2 separate regions of the Homo sapiens genome follow, and region 1 is linked to region 2. Evidence: promoter capture Hi-C in human tissues and cell types (Jung and others, 2019). All regions are on one chromosome and are shown on one strand. The core of a region is centred on a gene start or on the middle of the fragment in contact, and the rest is flanking DNA. Distances in the headings are between cores, read along the strand shown.

Region 1 (3,941 bases), core at 1,349-3,848, 620 kb after region 2:
GAGGATCTTTTGAGCTCAGAAGTTTGAGATCAGCTTGTAGTCATCATAGTGAAACCCCATCTCTACAAAACATACAAAAATTAGCCGAGTGTGGTGGTGCGCCTGTAGTCCCAGCTACTCAAGGGGCTGACGTGGGAGGATCGCTTGAGCCCAGGAGGTCGAGGTTGTGGTGAGCAAAGATCGCACCACTGCACTCCAGCCTGGGTGACAGAGTAAGACCCTCCCTGTCACACACAAAAAATTTTGTTTCTTTTGGATGAATTCTCAGGGGATAATTACTTTTCCTTTTCTCCAATAGATTAGGGACTGATCCTGTATCAATACAGCTAGACCTCAAACAGTATGATTAACCTTATTCTTTGAATGATTTTCATAGGTTTTTGTCACTGTGAACCAGGGGTTAAGGGTATCTTATATATTGGGAAGTTGGGTAAATACAGCTAGCTGGTCACGGTGTGCCATATTTGGGCCAAAAGGAAACAGCCTGTTAGGCTTTACATCACAGAGCACTTTATTTTTTATTTATTTGTTTTTATTTTTATTTACTTTTGAGATGGAGTCTCACTCTGTCACCCAGGCCAGAGTGCAGTGGCATGATCTTGGTTCACTGCAACCTCTGCCTCCCAGGTTCAAGCGATTCTCCTGCCTCAGCCTCCCCAGTAGCTGGGATTACAGTCATGTGCCACCACACCTGGCTGATTTTTGTGTTTTTAGTAGAGACAGGGTTTTGCCATGTTGGCCAGGCTGGTCTTGAACTCCTGACCTCAAGTGATCCACCTGCCTCGGCCTCCCAAAGTGTTGGGATTATAGGCATGAGCCACTGTGCCCAGCCGAGGTTTTGCGTCACAGAGCCCTTTAAAACACAAGATAAGATATGGTTTCTGAATGTGTGCTAGAAAATCCTCTGGATCATTCTGTTGTTGTTTTTGGTATGTTCCCCCTTGTTTTTCAACACACTTAAAAAAATCGTATCCACATTATGATCTTAATGAACTTCTCTCAGCAAGAGAACTCACGGTTACTTTAATATACCCAGACTACACAGAGGATAATTGAAATATGATCATGTCATAATGATGATTAGTCTATAATGATTATCTGAGATTGAGTCATGCTGGCAGAAGCCCTACGGAAAGGAATACTTTCTTTAGATATTATTAAAAGCAAAACAATCAACCACTGTGGAAAGCAGTTTGGAAATTTCTCCAACAACTTAAAACAGAACTATCATTCAACCCAGCAATCCCATTAGTGGCTATATGCCCAAAGGAAAATAAATCCTTCTACCAAAAAGACACATGCACTCATATGTTCGTTGCAGCACTATTAACAATAGGAAAGACATGGGATCCACCTAGGGGCCCATTAGTAGTGGACTGGATAAAGAAAATGTGGTACATATACACCATGGAATACTATGTGGCCATAAAAAATTGGCTGGGCATTGTGGCTCATGCCTGCAATCCCAGCACTTTGGGAGGCCAAGGTGGGCAGATCACTTGAGGTCAGGAGTTCGAGACCAGCCTGGTCAATATGGCGAAAACCCATCTCTACTAAAAATACAAAAATTAGCTAGGCATGGTGGCAGGCACCTGTAGTCTCAAGCTACTTGGGAGGCTGAGGCAGGAGAACCACTTGAACCCGGGAGGCAGAGGTTGCAGTGAGCTGAGATCACACCACTGCACTCCAGCCTGGGTGACAGAGCAAGACGCTGTCTCAAAAAAAAAAAAAAAAAAAAGTATAACTAGAAGGATGAATAGGGAGACCACAGAGGGCCATCTATGTGTGTGTGGGGCAGGGGAAAACGGGGTCAGGAGGGTAGTCCTCATTTTCTTGAGGTTCTCAAGTAAGTACACTCCTAATTTCATAATAGAAAAGCCTGCTTTGGTGTGAATCATTTGTTGGCATCCATGAACCAGAGACTCCCTGTTTCTCTCTCCTTGGTGCTAAGCTGCCTGGTTTGACTTTATGACATCACAGGATGAAGGAAAAGTAAGATTGCCAAGAAGGAAGTACATGTATCTAAGGCTGCATCCCAGTCAGGGTAAGACCTGTTCTCAGTGGGCTGGGAAGGGAGCAGTGAGTGTTGGAAGGACTTTAGATCAGACCCCAGGGTAGTGACACCCATACCTGCGGGAGGTAGAGGGGAGAAGGAAGCCTCCGGCAGGGCAGATGTCTCCCTGGGAAGATCCTCAGCTCTCTTACAGGAAGGTTCCGGGAACATTTGCGGCCAGTTTCACAAAACTTTCTCTTTCTCCTTCATCATCTGGGCCCACAGCCTGGGGCCTGACCCTAACAGGTCATTCATCAACAACCCTTCTTGAATCTGCTCTGGTCTTGGGTCACCCGTGGCCTTCATATGGCCAAATCCCTCATTAGATCCCTCGCTGTAACTTCACTCTTTTTGTTTTTCTTGAGACAGAATCTCACTCTGTTGCCCATGCTGGAGTGCAGTGGCGTGATCTCGGCTCACTGTAACCTCCGCCTCCCTGGTTCAAGCGATTCTCCTGCCTAAGCTTCCCGAGTAGCTGTGATTACAGGTATGCGCCACCATGCCCAGCTAATTTTTTATTTTTAGTACAGATGGGGTTTCACCATGTTGGCCAGGCTGGTCTCGAACTCCTGAGCTCAGGTGATCCACCCACCTCGGCCTCCCAAAGTGCTGGGATTATAGGAGTGAGCCACCGCACCCGGCCTAATCTCACTATTGATTAGTCAGTCCTTCATTCCTAAAGCTCTCTTCTTCTTCTCCCTCCTCCCCCTCCTCCTCCTCCTCCTTCTCCTCTCCCTCCTCCTCTTCCTCCTCTTCTTTTTGAGACAGGGTCTTGCTCTGTGACTCAGGCTTCTTGACTACAGCGGCACAATCATAGCTCACTGTGGCCTCTACCACCTCCAGGCTCAAATGATCCTCCCACCTCAGCCTCCCACATAACTAGGACCACAGGCACGCGTTACCATGCCCAGCTAATTTAAAATTTTTTTTTATAGAGATGGGGTCTCATTATGTTTCCCAGGCTGGTTTCAAACTCCCGGACTCAAGTGATCCTCCCACCTTGGTCTCCTGAAGTATTGGGATTACAGGCATGAGCCACTGCACCTGGCCATTAAAGGTTTCTTCTTTGTTGAGTATTGTCAACTCTGGGACTGTACTTCTGACCCACAGTATCTGTGGTGGGCAGGGAGCTGAGAAGTAAGTGGGAAAATGAAAGTGTGAAGCCAGTGAGCCAGGCCTGGAATAGGGTGAGGCAAGTGAGTGTCTAGGGTATAAAATTTAAGGAGCTCACTTGCAGGGTCATGCAAGTGTGAGGTGAGTGCTTCTTTAAAACTTGCAGGGCCAGTCGTGGTGGCTCATGCTTGTAATCCCAGCACTTCGGGAGGCTAAGGTGGCAGGATTGCTTGACCCAGGAGTTCAAGACCAGCCTGGGCAACATAAGGAGATGCTGTGTCTACAGAAAATAAAAAAAAATTAGCCAGGTGTGATGGTGCACACCAGTGGTCCCAGCTATGTGGGAGGTTTAGGTGGGAGGATCGTTTGAGACCAGGAGGTCGAGGCTGCAGTGAGCCATGAACGCACCACTGCACTCCAGACTGGATGACAGAGCAAGACTGTCTCAAAAAACAAGCAAACAAACAAAAAAACAAAAAAGCTTGCCCCCTAGGTACCTAGCTTGCCTCACCCTAATCCCAGCCTTGCCCATGAGTGCATGCTGCTCATCAGAAGGCGTGCTGGGAATGTTTGCTTGGATTTGAGTTACTTAGACACTGCGACCAGAGCATATTTTTTCTTCCTACTGCATGACACCACCACGCAACAGAAACCCCAGGGCATGCAGAAGTTCTGCAGACTCTTAGGCTGAATAATAATAACCAGCTGTGATCAGAACACAACCACTCCCCACAGAATATCAGGAAAACACTTTGTTGGGGGAGTAAAATTAGAA
Region 2 (4,290 bases), core at 1,776-4,275:
ACCTAGATCCCTCACATGTGCAGTTCACAGTAGGGTTCTCGCTCCTATCAGAATCTAATCCCACCACTGATCTGACAGGAGGCAGAGCTCAGGCGGGAATGCTGCAGTGCAGCCTGGTTCCCAAAAGGCCACACTGACTGGTACCAGTCCGTGACTTGGGGGGGCTGGGGACCCCTGTTGTAGATTTTATGGGCTTGGACAAATGTATCATGACATACAGCCAGCATTACAGTATCATACAGAATAGTTTCACTTCCCTAAAAATTCTCTGTGCTCCACCTATTCATCCTTCCCTTTCTCCTAACTCCTGGCGACCACTAATTTTATTACTGTCTTATATAGTTTTGCCTTTTTTAGAATGTCATTTTGTCATTTAGTTGGATTCATATAGCTCGTGTCCTTTTCAGATTTTTTTTGTTTTTTTTTTTTGTTGTTGTTGTTGTTGTTGTTTTCTAGACAGTCTTACTCTGTCGCTCAGGCTGGAGTGCAATAGCATGATCCCGACGCACCCCAACCTCCACCTCCCAGGTTCAAGCAATTCTCCCGCCTCAGCCTCCCGCGTAGCTGGGATTACAGGTGTGTGCCACCATGCCTGGCTAATTTTTTGTATTTTTGGTAGAGATGGGGTTTCACGGTGTTGGCCAGGCTGGTCTCGAACTCCTGACCTCAAGTGATCCACCTGCCTCAGCCTCACAAAATGCTGTGATTACAGGCCTGAGTCACCATGCCTGGCCCAGATTGGTTTCTTTCACTTAGTAATATGCGTTTAAGGCTGGGCATGGTGGCTTACGCCTGTAATCCCAGCACTTCGGGAGGCCGAGGTGGGCAGATCACCTTATCTATTTAGATCTCAGAATAAATAAATACATAAAATAAAAAATATTTATTTATGTTTCCTCCATGTCTTTTCATGGCTTGCTAAGATCATTTCTTTTTGGCACCAAATAATATTCCATTGTTTGGATACAGCACAGTTTATTCAGCTACTGAAGGACATCTTGGTCTTTTTTTTTTTGAGACGGAGTCTCACTCTGTCCCCCAGGTTGGGGTGCAGTGGCATGATCTTGGCTCACCACAACCTCTGCCTCCTGGGTTCAAGCAATTTTCTGCCTCCGCCTCCTGAGTAGCTGGGATTACAGGCGCCCACCATCACGCCTGGCTAATTTTTGTATTTTTAGTAGAGATGGGGGTTTCACCATCTTGGCCAGGCTGGTCTTGAACTCCTGACATCGTGATCTGCCCACCTCGGGCTCCCAAAGTGCTGGAATTACAGGCGTGAGCTACCATACCCGGCCCGTCCTTAAGTTTTGGCAATTATGAATAATGCAGCTATAAACATACTTGTGCAGGTTTTTGTGTGAACATAGTTTTCAACTCCTTTAGGTAAATATCAAGGAGTGTAATTGCTGAATTGTATGGTAATAATATATTTCTTTTTTTTTTTTTGAGACAGAGTTTCCATCTTGTTGCCCAAGCTAGAGTGCAATGGTGCGATCTCAGCTCACTGCAACCTCCGCCTCCTGAGTTCAAGCGATTCTCCTGCCTCAGCCTCCCAAGTAGCTGGGATTACAGGCGCGTGCCACCACGTCTGGGTAATTTTTTGTATTTTTAGTAGAGACGGGGTTTCACCATGTTGGCCAGGCTGGTCTCAAACTCCTGACCTCATGATCCGCCCACCTCGGCCTCCCAAAGTGCTGGGATTACAGGCGTGAGCCACTGCGCCCGGCCGGTAATAGTATATTTCATTGTGTAAAAAACAAAACAAAAAAACAAATTGGGCAGGGCATGGTGGCTCATGCCTATAATCCCAGTACTTTGGGAGGCCTAGGCAGGCAAATCACTTGAGGTCAGGAGTTCAAGGCCAACAGGCAAAAACCCCGTCAAAAAAATTAGTCTGGCATGATGTCAAGCACTCGTAGGCCCAGCTACTCGGGAGGCTGATGCAGGAGAATCGCTTGAACCCTGCAACAGAGTGAGACTCTCTCTCAAACAAAATAAAACAAAACGGAAAAACTATTAGAGGCTGGGAGCGGTGGCTCACGCCTGTAATCTCAACACAGAGGCGGAGGCGGGCGGATCACGAAGTCAAGAGTTCGAGACCAGCCTGGCCAACATAGTGAAACCCCGTACTCTACTAAAAATACAAAAAATAAGCCGGGCATGGTGGCGTGCGCCAGTAATCCCAGCTACTCGGGAGGCTGAGGCAGGAGAATCGCTTGAACCCGGGTGGCGGAGGTTGCGGTGAGCAGCGATCGCGCCATTGCACTCCAGCCTGGGCGACAGAGCAAGACTCCGTCTCAAAAAACAAACAAACAAACAAAAAGCAAAAAAACTATTAGAGCCTGGGCAACATAGTGAAATCTTGTCTCTACCCCCCACCCCCAAAAAAATTAGCCTGGGTGCGGTGGGATGCACCTGTAGTCCCAGCTACTTGGGATACTGAAGTGGGAGGATTGCTTGAGCCTGGGAGGTCGAGGCTGCAGTGAACTGTGTTCACGCCACCGCACTCCAGCCTGTGCGACAGAGCGAGACTCTGTCAAAACCAAACCAAACCAAAACAAAAAAAACCTATGATCCGGTTTCTTGAAGCAGATCCTATGGCAAGCCATCAAGCCAGAGCGGTAAGAAGTAGGAAGATGGTGCTTTTAGATCCACTACATTCCCAGGATCAAATGTAGAACAATATTTAGTCCCTAAAGTGATTCTCTTTCCATTATTGTCAACTGCGTGGTCGGTGCAACGTGAAAGGGCCACAACTATGTGAAGGAAACACTTAGAATATAACACCAAAGGAGGCAATCGCTGCCTTAGACTTCCTAAAGATCTAAAGAACTCTTAGATGCTTGGTGAAATCGCTCTCTGCCGCTGGTGCGACTCAGGCGCGGTCGCGAGGAAGGTCCAGGGTGAACGCGCGTAGGCTGGGAGTCCGCGTTGGGGCGCTCCCTGGCTTGCAGGCCGCTCCGAGTGGGTGGGCCGGGGGCGGGGCCGGCGGCAGGGAGCGGACTCCGCCCCCGGGGCGGGTCCAGTCGGGCCGCGGCGCGTCGCTGCGCCGCACGTGTGCGAGCCCGGCCGCCGGTGAGTCGGCTGGAGCGCATCTGGTCCTCCGCGCGGAAAGCGCTGCTTTTGCCTGGCCGCCCTAGCCGCTGGCTCATCCAAGTGGCCTTCGCCGCTCTCTTGCGTCCCAACCAGAGCGCTGGCCACCTCGCCGCCCAGCTCACGCCGCGCCCGCGCTCCCAGGCTCCGGGTAAGTGCGCGGCCTCCCCGCGGCCGCCGGGGCTCCTCGGCCTGGCCCTGGCCCCAGCCCCAGCCCCAGGGCCCCGCCCCAAGAGGCAGTGCGGACTGGGAAGGCGGACTGGGAAGGCGGCCCCGCAGTGGTCAGAGCCCGCGGCGCCTCCATTATGGATCGTGCCAGCGGGAGCACGGTTGGAACCCAGTGGGTCCTGCGCTTCGGCGGTGCAGGCGCCGCTCTCCGCTCCCCGCTCCCCGCTCCGCTCTGCCCGGCCAGTCGTCCGGAGGCGCCGCGCCCGAGCGCTCCCCTCCTCCCCGCGCGGCGCTGTCCCCCGGGGGCCCCCTTCCCACTCCTCCCTTTCTTTGCCCCGGACGCTCCCTAAACTCTTGTCCCTCCGTCAGAGGAACACTGGCCCTGAAGCCCTTCACGGTGCCACTGCTTCGCCGCGCCTGCCTTCTGTGGGTCCAGCCCACGTGTTCCACCCCTGTGTCCTGCGTCGCCGCTCACTGGGAGCCTACTAGGCGCCACGCGGGCTCTGGGGACTGCTTGCTTTGTATGCATTTCCCAGAGTAGGAGTGGACGGGCTGCAGACTCAGAGTGCTTTCTCCAGCCCTCAAGCTGGGTGAATGCTTAACGAGTGGATGGAGGTGCTGCTGTGCAAGCTGAAATTCGAGTCCTCCTCGTCAGCCCTGCGCAGAGGTGTTTAGAAGCACACCTTCGTTGCCTGCCGAGTAGGGTTGGCAAAGAGTTTAGTTTTTAAAATATTTGGTCCCGTCAGACTACTTTTTTTTTCCATTCCAAAAATAAAGGGTTACTAAGGTTCCCTCCCCCCCATCCCCAAGCCTCTAATCATCTATGAAATGACTATGCCCCATTGGCCTGGGGGAGCCTCGACTATTGAGGGATCTGTCGAAAATCAGACTGTACAACACTATTGAAAAGGGGTTGGTTAGGCAATTGTTAGGTTCAAACATTAGGAAAGTAGCCAACAGTACGTACTTAACAACTCCTTGTGAACATGTTTTTGGTTTTTTTATTTTTATTTTTTTAATTTTTTTGAG

Evidence for each region. The method cuts DNA at HindIII sites, captures the fragments that hold promoters and counts their contacts. A contact is called where the count stands out against the background at its distance.
Region 1: a fragment that was not itself captured here is called in contact with the fragment with the promoter of PUS7 in region 2 in 1 of the 25 tissues and cell types used here (dorsolateral prefrontal cortex).

What each region holds. Positions count from the first base shown.
Region 1 is chr7:104,901,260-104,905,200 of GRCh38, reverse strand. The region is part of intron 2 of LHFPL3 (LHFPL tetraspan subfamily member 3); the gene reads right to left. The region is part of intron 3 of LHFPL3-AS2 (LHFPL3 antisense RNA 2); the gene reads left to right. Among named protein-coding and RNA genes, the nearest start is that of LHFPL3-AS2, 23 kb to the left of the region's middle. The HindIII fragment of the contact is 4,084 bases long and covers 557-3,941 here.
Region 2 is chr7:105,521,006-105,525,295 of GRCh38, reverse strand. PUS7 (pseudouridine synthase 7) reads left to right here and starts at 3,025. Exons shown (of 16, transcript NM_019042.5): 1 at 3,025-3,244. RefSeq lists enhancers at 1,760-2,260, 3,544-4,198 and silencers at 2,897-3,646, 3,856-4,001. The HindIII fragment of the contact is 7,221 bases long and covers 2,676-4,290 here.